4 separate regions of the Homo sapiens genome follow, and all the other regions are linked to region 2. Evidence: promoter capture Hi-C in 16 types of primary human blood cells and fetal thymus (Javierre and others, 2016). All regions are on one chromosome and are shown on one strand. The core of a region is centred on a gene start or on the middle of the fragment in contact, and the rest is flanking DNA. Distances in the headings are between cores, read along the strand shown. Region 1 holds the start of IGLON5 (IgLON family member 5). Region 2 holds the start of CEACAM18 (CEA cell adhesion molecule 18). Region 3 overlaps SPACA6 (sperm acrosome associated 6). Region 4 overlaps VSIG10L (V-set and immunoglobulin domain containing 10 like).

Region 1 (5,124 bases), core at 1,087-3,586, 170 kb after region 2:
CAGGTGGGAGGATCACTTGAGGCCAGGAATTTGAGACTAGTCTGGGCAATATAGTGAGACCCCCATCTCTACAAAGAAAAAAAATTAAAAATTAGCCAGGTGTGGTGGCGTGCATCTGTGGTCCCAGCTACTCCAGAGGCTGAGGTGGCAGGATCGCTTGAGGCAGGGAAATTGAGGCTGCAGTGAGCTGTGTATGCTTGCACCACTCCACTCCAGCCTAGGTGAGAAAGTCAGACCCTGTCTCAAAAAAACAAGAAAAAGAAAGAAAAAAAGAGAAGAAAGAAGAAAGAAAGAAAGAAAGAAAGAAAGAAAGAAAGAAAGAAAGAAAGAAAAAGAGAGAGAGAGAGAAAAAGAGAAAGAAGGAAAGAAAGAAAGAAGGAAAGAGAAAGAAGGAAAGAGAAAGAAAAAAGAGAAAGGTAGGTCAGAACAAGAAGGAAATGAATGAGAGAAGGAAATGAGAGAAGTTAATGAAGATTAAGGCATAAGTGAGGAAGCAAGCAAGTATCAAGAGACTGAGTCATGCAATGGGCAACAGTCTGAAAAGCAGAGACAGACAGATGTGGAACTGTGCTGTCAGCAGCAGGGATGGAGAGACAATGACCCAGAGACAGAGGCAGGTGGAAAGTCAGCAGTGGATAACAGAGATGGGAAGGGATGGGAACCTCCAGAAATGGCAGGGACACAAAGACCTAAAGAGATGCATGACAGAGACAGAGACAGGTGGTCAGAAAGTCAGAGGGCGATTCAGACTGGTCAGGTGGGAGACGGGGGAGGACTAGCAAGGGACTGAGGCTGTGGCCCACCAGGTCCCTGCGTCCTGCGTGGATGGGGCTGTGTTTGTGTGACTGGTGTCTGCAGGTGCTGCTTCGGGTGGGACGCTGTGACGGGGTTTCTGTGCCAGACTTGGTCTATGCGGGCGGCCTCTCTGAGACTCTTGGGGACTCTGTCGGGGTTCTTGGTTGTCCCTGGAACTCTTTGTTCAGGGGAGGGCCTGGGGGAATCCTCCAGAAAGTCTGAATTAACCCAGCTCCCTGCCCTCCTGAGCGCCCACCCTCCAGCCTCCTGCCTCCTTGCACTCTCCTCCCTTTTCTTAGGGGGAAATCTAGGAATCTCCTTGACCACCCCCTGCCTGCCAGGCCCTACTGGGGAGACTCAAGGTCCAGCTATCTAACCTCAGTGCAGAAACCTGCCCCTGGCCCTCTCCCCAACTGGGAGGGCCGGGCCGGGCCGGGGTTAACCCTTCAACCTGCTTTAACCCTTCCCTTCCGTCTTTCCTTCATCCTCCCATGCCCATCGCTCTTCCACTGTCCAGCCCCACGAACCTAGACATTCAATCAGAGCTTGGGAATCCAAGACCCCAGCCCAGCACCCCAACTTCCTGTATCTCCAGCTCCCTTCTCCCCCACATAACTGCAACCTCCCCAAGTACCAACACTTTCTCTCAACCTAGATGACCCTGCTGGGGGATTTCAGACCCTTCCCCTCTTTTCCTGACCCTGGGACTAGGTCTGTGGACACCCTTGTCCCCTCCTCTTACTGACCCTGGGAAGGCATCCATCCCCTGACCTCTGTCCCGAGATGACTACCCCAGCCCCCGGCAAGGACCTCTTCAGGGACCCTCTCCACGTACAGATGAAGACCCCTAACAGGGCATTATCCCCTGCCCCCCACCCCAACTCAGTTCGGAGATCCGACCCGGGGACCCCGAGTCCAGTGTCTGCCCCCTCCTCAACAGGAGCCGCAGACTCCTGCCCCCAGGCAGGGCTAGGTGTCTGCGACCCTCTTGCCTGCTCGGGGAAGCAGACCTCCGCCCCTAGACCCGGCTCCGGCCCGAGGACGCCGACCCCTGCCCCGGGGCGCGGACCCCCACGTCCGAGGTCCCCCTGCCCAGCCAGGGAATGCAGACCCCACCCCCGGGCCCAGACCCCGGCGTCCCGGGGCCTCCCCGCGCCGGCCCAGGGATGCAGCCCTCGACCCCCACCCCTGATCCCCCGATTACCCACCCAAGACCCTGGCGTCCCGGCCGAGCCCCCCGCCCCCGGCGCTGCGGTACCTCGGCTGATGACGGCCAAGCCGGCCAGGGCGGCGGCGGCGAGAAGCCGGAGCCGGGCCCCGGGCGCAGGGGGGGGCATCGCGGCAGAGGCGGCGCGGAGGGGGAGGGGAAAGGGGGGGCCGGTCCGGGGCGCGCGAGGCCTGGGGGGAGAGGGGGGAGGGGGAGGGGGACCCCGCCTGCGCTGCACCGGCCCGGGGGGCGGCGGGGGCGGGGGGAGGGGGCTGGGGGGGCGCGACGAGGCGGCTGGAGCTGCTGCAGACCCGGGGAGGGGGGCGGCGCTGACGGGCAGGGAGACCGGCCAATCAGGAGAGGTGGGGGGCCGGGGAGGCGGGGTCAAGGGGGGGTTGCTTGTTGGAGGGAGAGGCCTTTGTTACTGCGGCCCGGCCCCTACCCCTCCCGCCCCAGGCGTCCCCACGTCTTTCCACCACATCCGCAGAACACGGAGTCTGGGATACTTCCTAAAACCCAGCTCCCTCCTCCTTCAAGTCCCAATCTCATCCTCCCATGGACCTAGGAGACTAGCCCCAGTCCCTCCTCTCTCAGACCCAGGAGCCCAGGTCCCCAGCCCCTCCTCCCTCAGACCCTGGAGTCCAGGCCCCCAGCCCCTCCTCCCTCAGACCCAGGAGTCCAGGCCCCCAGCCCCTCCTCCCTCAGACCCAGGAGTCCAGGCCCCCAGCCCCTCCTCCCTCAGCCCAGGAGTCCAGGCCCCCAGCCCCTCCTCCCTCAGACCCAGGAGTCCAGGCCCAGCCCCTCCTCTCTCAGACCCTGGAGCCCAGGCCCCCAGCCCCTCCTCCCTCAGACCCAGGAGTCCAGGCCCCCAGCCCCTCCTCCCTCAGACCCTGGAGCCCAGGCCCCCAGCCCCTCCTCCCTCAGACCCAGGAGTCCAGGCCCCCAGCCCCTCCTCCCTCAGACCCAGGAGTCCAGGCCCCCAGCCCCTCCTCCCTCAGACCCTGGAGCCCAGGCCCCCAGCCCCTCCTCCCTCAGACCCAGGAGTCCAGGCCCCCAGCCCCTCCTCCCTCAGACCCAGGAGTCCAGGCCCCCAGCCCCTCCTCCCTCAGACCCTGGAGCCCAGGCCCCCAGCCCCTCGTCCCTCAGACCCAGGAGTCCAGGCCCCCAGCCCCTCCTCCCTCAGACCCAGGAGTCCAGGCCCCCAGCTCCTCCTCCCTCAGACCCTGGAGTCCAGGCCCCCAGCCCCTCCTCCCTCAGAGCCAGGAGTCCAGGTCCCCAGCCCCTCCTCCCTCAGGCCCAGGAGTCCAGGTCCCCAGTTCCTCCTCCCTCAGACCTAGGAGTCCAGGCCCCCAGCCCCTCCTCCCTCAGACCCAGGAGTCCAGGTCCCCAGTCCCTCCTCCCTCAGACCCTGGAGTCCAGGCCCCCAGCCCCTCCTCCCTCAGACCCTGGAGTCCAGGCCCCCAGCCCCTCCTCCCTCAGACCCAGGAGTCCAGGCCCCCAGCCCCTCCTCCCTCAGACCCAGGAGTCCAGGCCCCCAGCCCCCTCCTCCCTCAGACCCAGGAGGCCAGGCCCCCAGGCCCCTCTTCCTGTGGGCCACAGTTCAGCTTTTCCATCTATTTTCATGGATAACGAAAACACTGACTTTTGGAGTGAAATTTGCTTTTTTCCTCCACCCCAACCCTCATCCCCAGTATAATAAGGCAATGGGAAGGGATTGGGGGACTTATCTTGGGGGAGCAGGTGGGGAGGAAACCATAATCCAGGGTTTAGGTGCAAAACATCCTGGCTCCCTGTTCTTTCACTGACTTGGCTGTGTGACCTTGGACAAGCCATTTCTCTTCCCAGAACCTCAGCGTCTTCCCCTGCAAGGTGGAAAATTCCCTATTGCCCAAGGTTATTGAGAAGAATGAGAGATCTTGGAGCAGCTCCTGGCTCCAGCCAGCACCTCAAAAACCTGTAGTGAGTTTCTCCCTCCCCTTTCCACTTTGCATCTGTTTACTAGGTGTATTCCACCCTCCTGTTCCCGTCCCCTTGGCATACGCAGGAGCAAAATAATCTCTGAGTCTACGTTATTTCTGTAGCAGTTCAAGGCAGGAGCTTTTGAAGTTACCCAGTAGGGGCTGTTCTGCCTCAGAAACATATCCATCCTCAATTCCTTCCCCCTCCACTCACATCCAATTTGTCTGCAAGAACCGCTGGCTCTGTCTCCAAAACAAATCTCTGCTTTGTCCTTTTCTTACTCTCCCATCCTGGTCTGAGCTTTCACCACCTCTCCCTGTAGGACTCTGGCTGTAGCAGCCTATGCTCTACTCTCTTGGCCTCTACCTTTGCCTCCACCTTCAGAACAACCACCACTAAACACCTGGACCAGCTAGGGCCACTCCCTGCCTCAATCACTCAGCTCGCTGTGACCTTCTTTCCATTCCTTAAACAAACCGAACAATTCCAGCCCCAGGGTCTTTGTACTTGCCGTTCTTTCGCTGGAATGCTCTTCCTACCACACTGGCAGATGACTCTTTCTTATTTAAGGCTCATCTTCTCCCCTTTAAGAAGCCTTCATTGATCATAGTTTCCAAAGTAGCTGCTACTCCCAGCACAATAACTCTACGTCATACCTCTTCATAGCACTAACAATGTTCTTTTGCCTTTTCCTTTTCTTTTCTTTCTTTCTTTCTTTCTTTCTTTTTTTTTTGACAGAGTTTTGCTCTTCTTGCCCAGGCTAGAGTGCAATGGTATGATCTTGGCTCACCACAACCTCTAACTCCTGGGTTCAAGTGATTCTCCTGCCTCAGCCTCCTGAGCAGCTGGGATCACAGGCATGCACCATCACAGTCGGCTCGTTTTGTATTTTTAATAGAGATGGGGTTTCTCCATGCTAGTCAGGCTGGTCTTCAACTCCTGATCTCAGGCGATCTGCCCGCCTCGGCCTCTTAAAGTGCTGGGATTACAGGTGTGAGCCACTGCGCCCGGCCGATTTCCTTCTTTCACTGTTATTTTTAGTTGCTCTCCCCCTACTCCCACTTCCAGAATGTAAGCTTCACGGAGTTTTTTGTTTTTGTTTTGGTCTGCTTTTGTTCAAGGCTGGATTTCCAGAGCCCAACCTAGTGACTGACATGTAGTAC
Region 2 (5,528 bases), core at 3,029-5,528:
ATGGTGCCATTTACATTGTAATAAAATTAGTGGAGTAAAAGCCAACACATGGGGCCTACTGTGTGCCAGGCACTGTTCTAAGCTCTGTGCCTGTCCCCACATTTGTTGAATTCCCAGAACAACCCATGTGACTGGTTCCACCATTGATCCATTTTATAGATGGAAAACAATGAGGCTCGGAGGAGAGGATTAGGACTTTATGACTCCAACTGACACAGAAGGATTGAGCCAGTCTCAGGGCCTGGGAGCAACTGCCCTGAGCAGCTGCAGCCTCTGGATCCTGGGTCTTGGTTCCAAGCCTCTGACCTGTAAACAGCTGTATGGAGGTCAGAAATTGTTCACCCCTCAACCCCACCTTCCACAGGATGGGTGCCGTAGCCTGCGCTTTAGGAAATCTGACAGACCGCTGGAGTAGTTCCAGGAGACGTGAAAGTGATTTTAGATGTGTGATTATGGTTTTCAGTTGGAAGATGTGGAAGAGTTTATTAAACTCTGTGAGCAGTCCTGGAATACTGGGGAAAAATCTAAGTGTTAATGTATTTATAAGTTCAGCGTATTCGATTTCCAAGAGCTGTCTGAGAATTTGTGGAGGTCTTCCTGGGTGGTGAACTTGCCCCGGTAGGCAGCTAAAAGGCTATAAAAAAAAAAGAATGTATGGAATGCATAATTGAGTCTTTAAATAAAGCTCTCTGTTTAAGGGAGCATAGCCTGTTCAGTTTCAGTGAAAGAGAGTGACAGGGACTATACTAAATTTAGTAGAAAAGAAGAAAGAAATTAATGAGCAGAATTTCAAGGCTCAAGGGGCTTGAAAACTTAATAATTGAACATCAATTTAAGAAACAATGGTATTCAGTAGTCCCCTCTTTACACAAAAGCAGACCTCAACAAAGGCACACTGACCATTTCTAATCTGAGAAGTGGGGACTGGCGTCTTCATTTCAAACTCGAGTGTACCACGTTTCTGAGTAGCAGGGGCAGCTCCCAAGTTCACAGGGCTCAAGAGCCTGAGCTGATTCCAATCCAGAGTGAGCTGGCTGCAGGCTGGCCCAGGATGCCCCCTCTCTCCAGCTCAGCCTGTCCTAACATATTCCTATCCCTAGAAAGCCCTGAGACCAGCCCTGGCTTCAGTCCCAGGAGCCCAGACCACTCACAGGCCACAGTCAGAGAGATGCGTTCACTTCTCTGAAAGATCTCTGGGAAACTCTCTATCATGCACTGAATTGTTCTGTCATAGCGGCTGACCCTGAGGATGACGAGGGTCTTGCCGTCTGGGGAAATTGTCATCCGGTCACTACTAGAGGTAGGCACATCATTCACATACCACGTGATGTTGGTGACATTTGTGAGGCAGTCAGCAGCCACAGAATCCATGTTCTCCACCAGGGAGCTGGCATTGACGGAGATGCCCAGATTGCTTCCCAACTCTGGGTGAAGCAGGAAAGAGAAAAAAATTACAAGTGGGGTCTGCTTCCCCAAGCTCTGCTCCTCTCCAGGGGACTTCTGGGCATGTTGGAGAGAAGCCAAGAGCTGTAAGATAAGATCTGGCATCCTGGCAAGGGAGCTGAGAAGGGCAGAGGAATAGGCACAGGGCAATGAGGCTGCTGAGGTGTGGGCCTTGCCTGAGCCACTGCCGTGCTGTCTGCTGCCATAATGGTGAGCTCTTGGCATAAACATGTGGCCTAATCATTGTTTCTGATCCTCCAAACCAGGACCCTCATCCAGGAGACACGAGAGGTTCTGAGTGAGAGGTGGCATTTGGCTACACAATACTACTCCATTATTTGAGTCCCATTCACTTTACGAATACTCCCTCCAACGCTACGACAAACCACAATGGTGGGTTCCTCCCCACTCTACAGATGAGGAAACTGAAGAACACAGAAGGAACACAAATGGGCCAGGGTCCTGCAGTATGTATTTGCAGCCACTGTCAAATACAGGACTGCTTGTCTTCCAACTCCGCCCTCTCCTCCCACTAGCCCTCAGATCCCCCAGGAGCTGTCCATGGTACACAAGATTCCAGGGCGGCTCCGTGATTTCCACTCCCGGTGTCATGCTCTGTATAATGTCCTTCTCTCAAATGTGTCACATCTAGCTCTCCTTGGGGGTTGGGAAACACAGCACCTGCTAACCCACCTAGAACCTCCAGCCAGCCGGTTGCTCTTTGGGTCTCATTGCCTGCAACCACCCGAACAGTGTAGTTTCCCGTGTCATTTAATGCAGTCGGCCTGATCAACAGGCTGCCTTCTCTGTTCACTCTCTCCCTGCCAGTGTACATGGGCCCAGGCTGCTGGGCACTGGGCGGTTTGTGGCTGATAATCATGTTTCCTGCGCTGTCGTTTGCACCCCAGTACCAGCTGTATTCCTGAACATCCTCAGGGACCTTATCCAGGGCCACGACAGTCCGATATCCCTTGATCCCCAGGGTTTGGGTGATGAAGATTTGGCCAGAGGCCTGGCAGATCCCACAGGCCAGCAGACTGGCTGAAGAAGACAAGGAAAAAAGACAGAGAGAAATTCACAAAGAGATTCAGACTGGCTGAGAAGACAAGGAAAAAAGACACCATCCGGGAACGATTCCCAGAGACGCTGGTGAACCAGGCAAGAGTTTCTGGCTCCTGGTAGAGTCCCCAGCTTGTCCCCTCCTGTGCCTCCCCTCAGCCCCTGCCGTGGTCCATTTTACCCTTATCTTCTCCCAGGCCCTCCTCGCTAGCCACACAGCCTCCAATCCATCCTCACATCACAGTTACGTAAATGTTAATAAGCCCAAGTTGCGACCCTGTTCTCCTCTGCTCAAACACCTTCCATGGCTCCCCAGTGCTCTTAGGATACAGTCCAAACTCTTAGGTGGGTATATGAAACACTCTCAGCCAGAGCTGGTGTTTGTGACTCATCGAGCCTCCTTGTGGTGCACACCTACCCCATCCTGTCCCCACTATGCACCTTTTACTCATTTATTCCTGTAGTTATTTATCAGAAGACATGACTGCCACGCTGTATGCCCCAGGCCTCTACATAGCTCTCTTGGTGCACCACACCTTCTCCTAACTCCAGGCTTCGCACACGCTGTTCCCCATTCCCGGCAGGGACTCCTTCTCCCTCCTCTCCATCTGCACCCTCCTTGCTGACTCACTTCTATTCATCACTCAGGTCTCAGCTTGGATGTCTCCTCCACCCCAGCCTGGGTCAGGTGTCCCCTCTGGGCTCCCCCAGCTCCTCCTGGGCTCCCCCCATCCCAGCCATGACCTCTGGGGGTCCTCAGAGTCTGGGCACATATCTATATCTCGCCCTGGACTGTGGGCTCCAGGAGGGCAGGACTGCCCTGTCTCAGTCACCACTGAGTCCCCAGCGCCCCTGAGCACAGGCTGGACACAGGGGGAGTTCAGTAATGATTGTCTGGGTGAGAAATACTCCCCCGAGAATTTCTACATGTCTTTGATTTTGCATCTAAATTCACTGGAGTGGGTGTGAATGGAGGCGGCAGCCTGTTACCACATATGACATGGGCAGTTGTCCACTGCCCTGTGAACCCCAAGCCTGGGCTATGTGGAGGAGGCAGAGATGCCTGAGACCCCGGCTCTAGGCCTCACGTATGGACACACTGGACCTGTTCAAGGACAGTACACGTGGTAAAGCAGGACAGTTGTGCTTGTAGGGGGCACAGAAGGTCCTGGGCAAAGGTGAGGGGCTGGGAAGGAATCTGGCCTGAGAGGTGGGGGAGGGGATGGGGCAGATTGGGGCACCCAGTGGGAGGTGAGTGCAGGGAGGTGAGGGTGAAGGTCCAAGCTCCTGATTCCTGGGCGTAGATAGAAACACAGTTTCTCTCTCTCTCTCTCTGTGTGTGCGCGCGTGTGTGTGTGTGCATGTGCGTGTGCGTGTGTGTGTAACACCACATGTGTGGGTCTGTGCAGGGGTGTGTCTAGGGGCAAAGTGTGCCCACGTGTGTGAGCTCATGAAAGTTGTGCTGAGGGTCCTCCCCCTTCTCCTCTCCCCGACCCCTGCTCTGGGAGTTTCTTGATGTGCCCGTGGATGGGGATGGTCCCAGCCCCCTCCCCGCCGCTTTGCTCCTAGCTGCCCTTCCCTCAGTCCTGGGAAGCTCATCCAGCATCCAGCATCTCTTACCCATGAGGAAGACCCTCCTCCACAGGCTCCATCTGGGTCTGGAAAGGTCCATGAGCTGCCTGGGGTCCTCCAGGAGGAGGGGTCCCTCCAGAGACACAGCCACCTCCTCTGCTCCCTCCAAGACCTGTGTCTCCTGGCACAGAGGCTGCCGGTCTCGTCTCCCAGCCTTCAGGGCGGCCTTTCCTCCCCAGGGTGCACTCTGACCAGCAGGGGTGGGGCCTGGGGAAGACGGCTCTTGAGAGCCCAACCTTATCTTTATGGCTTTATGTTGCCTTTAGTTCATTATTTATTTACTTATTTTTATAATAATTTACATTTTTTTCTCTGGTCATGAAAAAACGGAAAAACACAGGCTCACTGTTGGGAAAACAAAGAAAACCAGAAAATACAGCCAAGTGCCTCAAAGATAGGACATCAAACTCCTCAACTGTATGTCCTGTTTCCATTTGGTTTGGTTTTCCTATGCAGGGCCCAGCTTTTTTTTTTTTTTTTTTTTTTTCACGGAGTCTCGCTCTGTCACCAGGCTGGAGTGCAATGGCATGATCTTGGCTCACCGCAACCTCGTCTTCCGGGTCCAAGTGATTCACCTGCCTCAGCCTCCCGAGTAGCTGGGACTACAGGCTCGTGCCACCACACCCAGCTAATTTTTGTGTTTTTAGTAGAGACGGGGTTACATCATGCTGGCCAGGATGGTCTTGATCTCTTGACCTCGTTATCCGCCCACCTCGGCCTCCCAAAGTGCTGAGATTACAGGTGTGAGCCACCGTGCCCGGTGTAGGGCCCAACTTTTAGACTGCCTGGGGCTGTTTTACAACTGGCTGCTTTCCTCCTCAACAGTGGACTATTTCTCTATGTCACTAAATATTCCTCCCATGACCATTGTGAATGGCTGCAGGGAATGCTCTTCTAGACCTGAACCAGTGTGTGTATAACCAGATCCCTTTGTGAAAGTGCTCACAAGCCAAAAAAATCCCTGAGAAATACAGTGGGGAAGGCTGTGAAGCGAGGGCTCTCTGACAACAAAAATTTTCACAGAAGACGCTGCAGAAACCATAGTCTTGCACAAAAGCCATTGCTTCCTTCCACCAAAAAAATACTTCTGTGACAAGTATTTGGACAGCAACCTCCGGTCCAAACTTGGACTGACGTCACCCTCATTAGGGATCCTTGTAGCCTAGGGTAATTATCTCAAACCATTTATGGGGTCCTCCTCATTTTTCCATTGAAAACCCTTTGTGTTCTTTTACCTCCCTGAATATGCACGTAGTTTACTATAGCACCCAGATTCCCATTGCAATGCCCCATTCCTGAATACATATCATTTTCTTTTAGAGAGCTTCTCTCTGTTTGTTATTTAGGTTGACACTTTGTTGTTGGAGGGTCAGGCTGTTTCTAAAAACAGGGAT
Region 3 (5,232 bases), core at 1,698-4,197, 220 kb before region 2:
ATAAAATTTGGAATGTCAAATAAAACGTTTGGCATCTCTTTTTTACAAAGTTGGAAGAGCTGTAACACAGAGATCGCATTTCCATAAGGCAGCAATTAGCTGGAGATGGGTAGCAGTCACTCCCTTGAAATGGGGCACACACCGGCCACTTCTCCATAGTCCCCAGCCTCTATTCACTTCTATATTTACCCATCTTTTACTCTTTTATGTTCCTTGTCTTTGTAGGTGTTTGTTTTGTTTTGAGATAGAGTCTCGCTCTGTTGCCCAGGCTGGCGTACAGTGGTGTGATCTTGGCTCACTGCAACTTCCACCTCCCAGGTTCAAGTGATTCTCCTGCCTCAGCCTCCCCAGTAGCTAGGATTACAGGCACCCACCACCATGCTCGGCGAATTTTTATATTTTTAGTAGAGATGGGGTTTCACCATGTTGGCCAGGCTGGTCTCAAACTCCTAACCTCAGGTGATCCGCCTGCCTCGGCCTCCCAAAGTGCTGGGATTACAGGTGTGGGCCACCATGCCTGGCCTTGTGTTTTGACCACTGCAATGGCCTCCAAATTGTATGGGTTTGTGGCTTGTTCCAGTGGAATAAGAATAGACAGCTGACTTGATCTCGTGGTGATTTGTGGAAATCAGTAATGTGGCAGGGTTTTATCGGCTAAATCGTGCCGCCCACCCCCCATCCCCCGCAACCAAACTTGTATGTTGAAGTCCTAACTCCCAGTACCTCAGAATGTGACTGTACTTGGTTCTTAAAGAGGTGATTAAGTTAAAATGAGGTCATTAGGGTGGGCTGTAATGCAGTATGATTGGTGTCCTTATGAGAAGAGGAAATTAGGACACAGAGATGCACACAGGGACATATGAAGGAAGGCATCTACAAGCCAAAGAGAGAGGCGTGAGAAGAAACTAACCCTGCTGACACCAAAACCTTGGTCTCAGACTTCTAGAAGGCAGAAACTTCTGTTGTTCGAGTCACCCAGTCTACGGTACTTTGTTACAGTGGTCCTAGCAAACCAACACACAGGAATTGTTCACTGCCTCCAAATACCTATATATCTATAACCTATATCCACAGAACACAGATAAAAAGCTTCATCTCCCAGCCTTCCTTGCAGTTGTGGTCATGTGACCAAGTTGTAGCCATAGGATGCAAATGGATGTGTTATGTGAGTCACAGGAGGTGGCCTTAAAAGGGAGGTGGTACCGCACCTGGAATCACAGCTACTCGGGAGGCTGAGGTGACAGGATCACTTGAGGCCAGGAGTTCGAGACAAGCCTGGGCAACATATCCAGACACCATCTCTAAACAAATTTTTATAAATTAGCCAGGTGTGATGGTGTGCTTGTAGTCTTAGCTACTCAGGAAGCTGAAGTGGGAGGATGGTTGAGCCCAGGAGTTCAAGGCTGTAGTGAGCTATGATTGCACCACTGCCCTCCACCCAGCCTGGGCAATAGAGCAAGACCCTGTCTCTAAAAAACAAAGACAGAGAAGGTGGTGCCATCTTATTGTTCCCCTCATCCATCCTGCTGCCTGAAAATTTGTTTTGATGGTTGGAGCTCTAGCAGCCACACGGGACCATGAGGACAAGGGCTACTCCCTGGGATATTAAGTCTTGAAGGAGCTTGGATCCCCAAGAAATGGAGGTGCCATATTAGCCTTAAGTGCCTACCACAAGACTTACTTTATATAGGAGAGCTAAACTTCCTACGGGCTTAAAGCCATTGCAGGGACAGGGGAAAGCGTCCTCTGTGATTAAAGCCATACAAAAAGGGAGGGAACTGAGGATATTGGCAAGAAAGTGCCTAAAACAATGATCACTGGATATACACTTGGAGAGAGGAAGCACTGATGCCCAGAAGTGGGTTCCAAATGAGGACCCAGTGGTCTCTCCTTGGCCACAGAGCAGGAGTGTGGTCTCAAGATGGCAGGATGATCAGGAGCATGTGGTCAGACTGGGGTGCACAAATGAGAGGCCAGGATGTTGGAGGAGTCATCCAAAGAATTTCTATGTGCCAAATCAAATGACTCATGGGCAGGGTGAGCGTGGGATATACCAAGTAAGCCATGGTGGCCGGGTGGGCTTATACTCCACCAGGGGAGTATAAGTGGAGTGAAATGTTCCGAACAGGCCAAGTGGCCTGGGTTATAGCAAGCGGGCCATAAGGCGGCATGGGTGGGTGTTGTAAAGTCTCCCCCAGAGGAGTTGCATATCGTCAGGAGCTCTGACCCTGGTTCAGATCATCTGGGTCTGAGTCCTGGTGCTTCCGTCTTGAGCACACCTGTCTCAGATCTGAGTATCAATCACAAGCCCTCCTCCCCATGCGACCTTGGCCAAGTGACTTCACCTTCCTGATCCTCAGTTTCCTCATTCATCAAATGAGGATGACAGCAGTGTCTGTATCACAGAATTAGCGGGAGGATGAGACGCCATACAACCATGAAAGCATCCTCATCCCCACTCTTCCATGGCATCGTTTAATGATTGTATGAGATGGTGTCACTAAGTGTGTAGAATGGCTCCTAGCACGTAGTGAGTGTTAGAGAAGGCTGGCAAACTTAGGATTGCCATCTCCAAGTTTGAGGTGGGGAAACGGAGGCATGGGGAGATTAGAGAAGTGGTCCAAAATCACATGGCTACATTTGACCCTGGTGGTCAGGCTCCAGAGCCTCCACACCTAATCGCTGCATACATAATCTCCACACCTAATACTGCATCCAGTCTGTACCACGTCATCTACTCCATGGTTTATATATACATATATACAAATAAGATCACCTGGGATCACCAAGAGGCAGTCAGCCTACATCAGCTCCTCCATCTCCCTGCTGCTCCCTCTGGAGGAGACGCAAAAGTCATCCTTGATTCTTCCCATTGCCCTCACCCACCTACATCTGGTCCAGTCTATCTCCAAATATATCCTGGGCCTACTGTTCTTGTCCAGAAGAGCCCAGCGTTCCCTTCTGATAAGCGGGGCTATAAAACCCAGCCTCACAGGGCCGGTAGAGGATATCCTTTAGGAAGATACTTAATATGAATGACTCTGTGTATGGCAAACACAGCCTTTTGCACGCATGGGCAAGCCTGGCACACGGTCAAATCCTTATGCCCACCCCACTCTGCTCAGACCTCATCTGGGCCCCCGGACCACTGTGACTGGTCCAAGCCACCATGGGCCGGCTTCTCACTGGAAGTCTTCCTGCCTTTGTCCAGGCCCCATACAGCTGCCAGAGAGATCTTGTTAAATCCCAGGTCAGATCCTGTCTCTCTGTGTAAAGTCCTCCAACAGCTCCCCCATTTCAAGAGCAAAAAACAAAAGTCATTCCAAGGGCCTACAACAGTGATTCTCAAAGAGTGTTCCCGGAGCAGCAGCATCAGCATTCCCTGGGATCTTGACAGAAACGTCCATGTCTGGGCCCTACCTTGGACCTCCTGGTCAGAGGTGGTGAAGCCCAGAAATCTGCATTTTAAATAAGCTCCCAGGGGATTCTGATGTATGCTGGGGCTTGAGAACCCCCTGTCTATGAGGATCTACAGGAGGTGGCCCCTTGCTATCTCTCTGATTTCACCTTTACTCCAGCCCCACGGGCCCCAGGGTCTTGCACTGGCTATTCCCTGTGGCCTGAAAATCTCTTTCCACAGATTATCTGCATGGCTGTCGCTGTCACTGTCACCTTGCTCAGGTCTTTGCTCAACTGGACCCTGTCATTTCCACCTGCCCTGACCAACCTATTTAAAATTATCACCCAGCCAGGTACGGTAGTTCATGCCTGTAATCCCAGCACTTTGGGAGGCTGAGGTGGGAAGATCACTTGAGCCCAGGAGTTCAAGACCAACCCATGCAACATAACAAGACACCATCATTACAAACTATTTAAAAAATTAGCCAAAGATGGTGGCGCACACCTATAGTCCCAGCTACTTGGGAGGCTGAGGCAGGAAGATCGCTTGAGCCCAGGAGTTTGAAGCTGTAGTGAGGTATAATCACATCACTGCAATCCAGCCTGGGTGACAAAGTGAGACCCTATCTCAAAAAAACAAAAAAACTATCACCCCTTTCTCTTCCCCTTCTCTGTTTTCCTCCATGGCAGGGATCACCAACTGACATACTAAGATACTAAGATATTTTATCGATTATGTTTATTGTCTATCTCCCCAGACTCCACCCCAATATAAGCAACCCGAGGACAGGTGGTTTGCAGTTTTGGTCACAGCGGTTGTTCCTGGCACATTCAGTAAGTATAATTGAACGTATTGCACCAGCTTCTCCCGGCCTCCAGACTCTCCCTCTGGTCCATCTTTGACACGACCCCAGAGGGTTCTTTCTACACCCAGAGCTGCCCCTACTTCTTCACTGCTCACACTCCTGCTGCAGCTCCCCAGCGCCCTGAGGAAAGAGACTCAACACTCTCTGACTTTTCTGCTGAACTCTGCACCTAGGTATCTAGCTGCCTCCTAAACGTCCCTGGGACCCCTCAAAGTCACTGCCTTCTAACCCAGCTTATCATCTGCCCCCGGCTCTTTCTCTCAGGCTCCTTATTTCGGTGATGACCCACCGCCCAACAGGCACAGAGCAGGACCTGTCTCAGATGCTGTTCTCTATGCTTCCCAAAACAGCCCAGCAGACCTAACTCTCTGGCCCTGGCCCTTCTCCACCTTCACGGCCCCAGCCCCCACTCGGGCCTCCGCTCTGGCCTGGACCCTCACCCAGCCTCTTCTCTCTCCCCTCCAAGTTTGTCCCCCATGCGGCCCCACAGAAGGCTTCCATTCCCAGATCCAAAGGTTCCTCATCTTTTCAAAAGCTTCTGTAACAAGGCAGCCTATGTGGGGAGAAAGGGCATTTCTTGGAATCCTGCACACCCCCACATGGAGAGGTTTAGGGCCTCAGGTCTCCCTTTAGGGTGGAGATGGGGAGAGCCACAGCTGAGGCCTTCTCCAGGCTGGCCCTGGATGCCCCCTGGGTGGATGGGAACCTTCCCTCTTCCGGGATTGTTGACAGGACGCTTGGAGGGCAAAGCAGGAAGCAAAAGGAGCGACTGTGGGTGTGGGAATAAGCCCTGAGCTCCTGGACCTAAGAGGAAGCCAGTTTATTCTATAGCGCAGGGCTCTGTAACTCCTGCAACTCCGAGCCTCCACAGTTCCAGGGTCTGGCACCTCGTGGGGATCATGGCCATGGTGATCAGGCATGATTACCGCCCATGCTGCCCATCGGCATTGCGTGGCCCCCAGCCCTG
Region 4 (5,326 bases), core at 2,213-4,712, 150 kb after region 2:
GACTTGCAGCTGCATCACTCCAACCTCTGCCTCCAGCTTCCCACAGGCTTCTTCCCTGTGTGTGTGTCTCTTCTTCTTCTTCTTCTCCTTCTCCTTCTTCTTTTTTGAGAAGGAGTTTTGCTCTTGTCGCCCAGGCTGGAGTGCAATGGCATGATCTCGGCTCACCGCAACTTCTACCTCCCAGATTCAAGTGATTCTCCTGCCTCAGCCTCCCGAGTAGCTAGGATTACAGTCATGCGCCACCACACCCAGCTAATTTTTGTATTAGTAGAGATGGGATTTCACCATGTTGGCCAGGCTGGTCTTGAACTCCTGACCTCAGGTGACCCACACACCTTGGCCTCCCAAAGTGCTGGGATTACAGGTGTGAGCCACCGCACCTGGCTTCTGTCCTCTTCTTTTAAGGACACCAGTTATATTGGATTAGGGTCCACCCTAATACCTCAAATTGACTTGGTTACATCTTCAAAGACCTTATTCCAAAATAAAGTCACATTCACAGGAACAGGGGTTAGGACTTCAACATATGTTTTTCTTTTGGGGTAGGCACAATTCAGTTGATAACATGCCTCCATTGGAGCATCTCAGGATTTAGTCCTCACTCCCCAAAGTGATCATGTTCATGCTCATGGCCTTCAATAACATTAATAATCAGATGACTCCCAAATGTCTTATCCTGGGCCCTGACTTCTCTCTTGAAAAGGATGCGCCCAACTTAAGATCTTCACTTTTTGGGGAGGTGGGGGGTGTGGACAGAGTGTTGCTCTGTCACCCAGGCTGGAGTGCAGTGGCATGATCTCAGCTAACTGGAACCTCCACCTCCTGGGTTCAAGTGATTCTCCTGCCTCAGCCTCCAGAGTAGCTGGGATTACAGGTGTGAGCCACCACGCCCAGCTAATTTTTTTTGAATTTTTAGCAGAGACAGGATTTTGCCATGTTGGCCAGGCTGGTCTTGAGCTCCTGACCTCAAGTGATCTGCCTGCCTCGGCCTCCCAAAGTGCTGGGATTACAGGCGTGAGTCAAGATCTTCACTTTGGATGTCCAATTAGCATCCCAAATGTCATATGCCCAAAACAGATCTTTCGATGTTTTCCCTCAAAACTGCATCCTCCAACCCTGCAGTCTTCCCCATCCTCATAAATGTCACCACTTACAGGCCACATCACCCCTGACATCCTAATTGCCAGCAAGTTCGGTCCATTTTCCTTCTAAAATATTTTCCATCTTCACCCCAAGGCTCTGGTCAAACACAGCATCCTCTCTTGCCTGGACTGCAACAGCAGTTTATTTGGTCTCTTTATACTCCCTCTTGCTGTCAGATAATGCATTCTCCACACAGAAGCCAAAGTTATGCAAATCAGATCATGAGGCTGCTCTACATAAAAGCCGTCCATTAATTTCTGCAGGACCCCTTTAGGATCTGGTTCCTGGAAACCTTTTCTACTTCACTCTCCACCTCCAGCCCGCTCCTTCCTTATCCTCCACCCACGCTGGCCTTCGTTGAACAGAGAAAGCTTTTCTAGTTCTGGGCCTTTGCATTTACTGTTCCCTCCTCTTGGAACGCCCTTTCCCCGGGTTTAGTATGACTGTCTCTGGTCTTTATTCTTCAAGTCTCTGTTCAAACGTTACTTCCTCAGGGACCTGAGCTCACCACTGTTTCTAAATGTCACATCCCTTCCCATTGTTCCTTTTTTGTTTTTTGTTTGTTTGTTTTCTTTTTTTGAGAGAAGGTCTCACTTTGATGCCCAGGCTGGAGTGCAGTGGCACGATCTGGGCTCACTGCAGCCTCAACGTCCCCAGACTCAGGTGATCTTGCCTCAGTCTCCTGAGTAGCTGGGGCTACAGGCGCAGCCACCGCACCTGGCTAGTTTTTCTATTTTTTGTAGAGACAGGATCTCGCTATGTTGCCCAGGCTGGTCTCCAACTCCTGGGCTCAAGTGGTTGCCCACCTTGACCTCCCAAAGTGTTGGGAATCACAGGTGTGAGCCACCACACCTGTCCCCCATTATCTCTATCACATCACTTTTTCTTTCTCGGGACAATCTGTGATTATCTTATGTATTGCTCATTTATTTATGTCTTCTCTCCTAGAATTAAGCCCCATAAGGGTAGATATCTTTCCTGTTTGGCCCACGAATGAATCCTCACTACCTGTCTGAGAGCCAGGCACACCACGGTCACTCAGTAACTGTTAAATGAGTTGAGAGTGCTGGGGTCCCACATTCCTGGGTTCTGGGAGGGGAGGGACAGTGGGGGCCGGACTCCTGGGTCCCAGCACAAAGTTAGGGGGCTTAGGAAACTTGGGTCCAACCTTGGTTCCTGTTCCCCTTCTCTTTCTTCTCTTTGTCTCTTCCAGGCCCCACGTTGAGCCATGGGGCCATCGCTGGCATCGTCCTGGGCTCCCTGCTGGGCCTGGCGCTGCTAGCCGTACTTCTCCTCCTTTGCATCTGCTGCCTGTGCCGCTTTCGTGGTGAGCAAGGGGACTGGGGAAGGGGCAACCATGACCAACGGGGAGGGACCCTAGAAAGAGGCCTATGGAAGACCTGGCTGAGGCAATCAGTGCCGTCATAGGTCATCCATCCTGCCCTCCTACCTCCAAATCAGCCAATCAGCATAAGGCTCCGCCTCTCCAACCAGCTTCCCTTGCTATTGGCTGGGTTGGCATGTTGGGGCAGCCAATCACGTGTTCCTGCTTCTCTTCTGCCTCTCAATCAGGAAAGACTCCTGAGAAAAAGAAGCATCCTTCTACCTTGGTCCCCGTGGTCACCCCCTCAGAAAAGAAGATGCATAGTGTGACCCCAGTGGAGATTTCATGGCCTCTGGACCTCAAAGTCCCTCTGGAGGACCACAGCTCAACTAGGGCCTACCAAGTGAGTGTGGGTGCCCTCATTTCCTCCTGGAATCGGGGCGGAACTTCTTGTATTACAGTCAGGGAGATGAGAGGGTCTCAATTATCTAACTCCAGTTTTACTTGTTAGTTTACAGTCTGTATAACTTTATCCTTTTTAAAAATGCATCAAAGTTGGACAGAGCTTCCCGCCCAACTTTGATGTATATTAAAATAAGAGTGAATTCCAGTTTCTTCTCCAAAGGAGGGAAATAGGATCTCTCTCTCTCTTTTTTTTTTTTTTGGAGACAGAGTCTCACTTTGTTGCCCAGGTTGGACTGCAGTGGTGCAATCTCGACTCACTGCAGCCTCCGCCTCCTGGGTTCAAGCGATTTTCCTGCCTCAGCCACTTGAGTAGCTGGGATTACAGGCAAGCACCACAACGCCTGACTGATTTTTGTATTTTTAGTACAGACGGGATTTCACCATGTTAGGCAGGCTGGTCCCGAACTCCTAACCTCAAGTGATCCGCCCACCTTGGCCTCCCAAAGTGCTGGGATTACAGGCATGAGCCACTACGCCCAGCCCCTCCATTTTTCTTTCCCATAAAAATTGGGCAAGGCCCATTTTTCTCTATGAAGTGGGGTACAGTTACCTCATTCCCCATAAAAGAAGGATTGTTGTGACTGGGTGTGATAGTTCATGCCTGTAATCCCAGCACTTCGGGTGGTTGAGGAGAGAGAATCACTTGAGCTCAGGAGTTCGATACCAGCTTGGGCAACATAGGGATACCCCATCTCTACAAAAAATTTTAAAATTAGTCGGGCATGGTGGCACGTACCTGTAGTCCCAGCTACTAGGGAGGCTGAGGTGGGAGGATTGCTTGGGCCTGGGAGGTCAAGGCTGCAGTGAGCTCTAACGGTGCCACTGTACTCTAGCCTGGATGACAGAGTGAGACCCTGTCTCAAAATAAATAAATAAATAAATAAATAAAAAATAACAACTGGGTTGGGTTGTTGGCTGGCTTCGCTCCACCAAGGATAGCCAGGCATTTTTTTTCCCCTCTCCAAATGGAGGGTTCCCAGATAATCTCTAAAAAGTTCAAGCAAGAGCTAGAAAAAGTTAGGCGGGTGAGTTATGTCACATCCAGAGTACCTACTGAGTTCTCCCCTCACCCCACCTCTCTCTTCCAGGCACAGACCCCAGTTCAGTTGTCTCTGTAGGCGGAGGCTCAAAGACTGTTCGCGCAGCCACACAGGTGTGATCAGAGCCAGTGGTCTGCCCTGCACAGGGCGTTTTGGGCCAGAACTTCCTATTTCACTCCAGCAGCAGCCAGGGCCTGCTATGACTGAGGGTTGGACCCTGAAAGTGGGACTTTCTGTCTCCCTCTCTTGCTGCAGAAGAAGAGTCTTCCTGTATTTGTGCAAGTAAGGAGATGTGACTTCTTGGCTGGGAAACTCTTGCTGATCTAACTGTGTGGTTTGCACAACCTCCAAGCCTCTGCAGCAGACAGGCAGGGCTTGCTGTGTTGCTCTGAGCTAGAGAGGGAGCTTGGCCATGTTCTCTGAAAAGGTCCCCTTACATTCACTTTGCCACCTGTAGGCCACACCCCATCCAGCTCCCAGCATCTTCATCTTAAAACAGATCAGATCATGTCACTCTTCTCTTTAAACGCTTCTACGGCCTGTGCATTTCCCTTCAGATATTATCCAAACTCATCGTCGTGACCTTCAAAACCTTGTGGTCTGGCCTCTGTTGGCCTCCCTGACCTCCCCTCCCAATTCTTTCTCTGCCCCCGGACTCCAGTATCACAGTCTGTCTCTCAGCCACAATTTATTTTGCCCCTAGAGTTTGCTGTGCTTATAACACTTCTTTTTCCCATATGTCATTCATTTCTCAAGTCTAAGAGTAGCAGTTACCATCTTAGACGACCGTTCCCTTACCCCTCCCTTAGTCTTGGGTTAAGTCCCAGAATCCTTGAATTTGCCGTTCCTGATACATAAATATGTAATTTCTTGTGTGGCCTGAGACTCTCTCTCTAAACTAAGGGCTTTACAAAAGCAGAGACCACATCATTAACTCAGCACTTAACCCAGAGCCTCACACACAGCAGGCAATCAATAAATATTTGTTGACTGATCAAATGTTTTGGTGCCAGTGAAGAGTTGGGCTTGCTGCTGCTGTCTTCAGCGTAAGTCTTGCTTTTTCAGCTGGGTTTCTAATTGAGAATTTAGAGAGTGCATTGGTGAGGATTCTTTTGACTGCAAGTAACAAAATAAAATGGTGGCAAGAACTATGGAGGCGGCTGGTTTCAGGCTGGCTCAGCAGCTCAGTAACGCCATTAAAGACATGGGCCCTTTGCATCCATCTGCTCTGCCACCCTCAGTGGGTTGGCACATTGACTCTAAGCATGTTGCTTCACGTAGCAAGATGGTTGCTGCAGCTCCAGTCATCACATCTTCACACAACTGTATCCAAAGATAAAAGGAAGGGGGCAGA

Evidence for each region. The method cuts DNA at HindIII sites, captures the fragments that hold promoters and counts their contacts. A CHiCAGO score of 5 or more calls a contact.
Region 1: a contact is called between the fragment with the promoter of IGLON5 here and the fragment with the promoter of CEACAM18 in region 2, in 7 of 17 cell types (fetal thymus, activated CD4 T cells, total CD4 T cells and 4 more). The highest score is 7.3, in fetal thymus.
Region 3: a fragment that was not itself captured here is called in contact with the fragment with the promoter of CEACAM18 in region 2 in 5 of 17 cell types (monocytes, total B cells, neutrophils and 2 more); the score reaches 8.2 in monocytes.
Region 4: a contact is called between a fragment that was not itself captured here and the fragment with the promoter of CEACAM18 in region 2, in 5 of 17 cell types (naive B cells, activated CD4 T cells, total B cells and 2 more). The highest score is 8.2, in naive B cells.

The regions. Positions count from the first base shown.
Region 1 is chr19:51,308,856-51,313,979 of GRCh38, reverse strand. IGLON5 (IgLON family member 5) reads right to left here and starts at 2,336. Exons shown (of 8, transcript NM_001101372.3): 1 at 2,054-2,336. The coding sequence starts at 2,132. The HindIII fragment of the contact is 5,776 bases long and covers 1-5,039 here.
Region 2 is chr19:51,477,289-51,482,816 of GRCh38, reverse strand. It overlaps CEACAM18 (CEA cell adhesion molecule 18), which reads right to left and starts at 4,278. Exons shown (of 6, transcript NM_001405061.1): 1 at 4,123-4,278; 2 at 2,137-2,484; 3 at 1,152-1,424. The coding sequence starts at 4,174. The HindIII fragment of the contact is 9,749 bases long and covers 1-5,528 here.
Region 3 is chr19:51,695,263-51,700,494 of GRCh38, reverse strand. The region is part of intron 2 of SPACA6 (sperm acrosome associated 6); the gene reads right to left. Among named protein-coding and RNA genes, the nearest start is that of SPACA6-AS1, 4.4 kb to the right of the region's middle. The HindIII fragment of the contact is 3,711 bases long and covers 1,092-4,802 here.
Region 4 is chr19:51,331,335-51,336,660 of GRCh38, reverse strand. VSIG10L (V-set and immunoglobulin domain containing 10 like) reads left to right here. Exons shown (of 10, transcript NM_001163922.3): 8 at 2,357-2,470; 9 at 2,716-2,870; 10 at 4,021-5,120. The coding sequence ends at 4,050. Among named protein-coding and RNA genes, the nearest start is that of VSIG10L-AS1, 6.0 kb to the left of the region's middle. The HindIII fragment of the contact is 3,891 bases long and covers 1,517-5,326 here.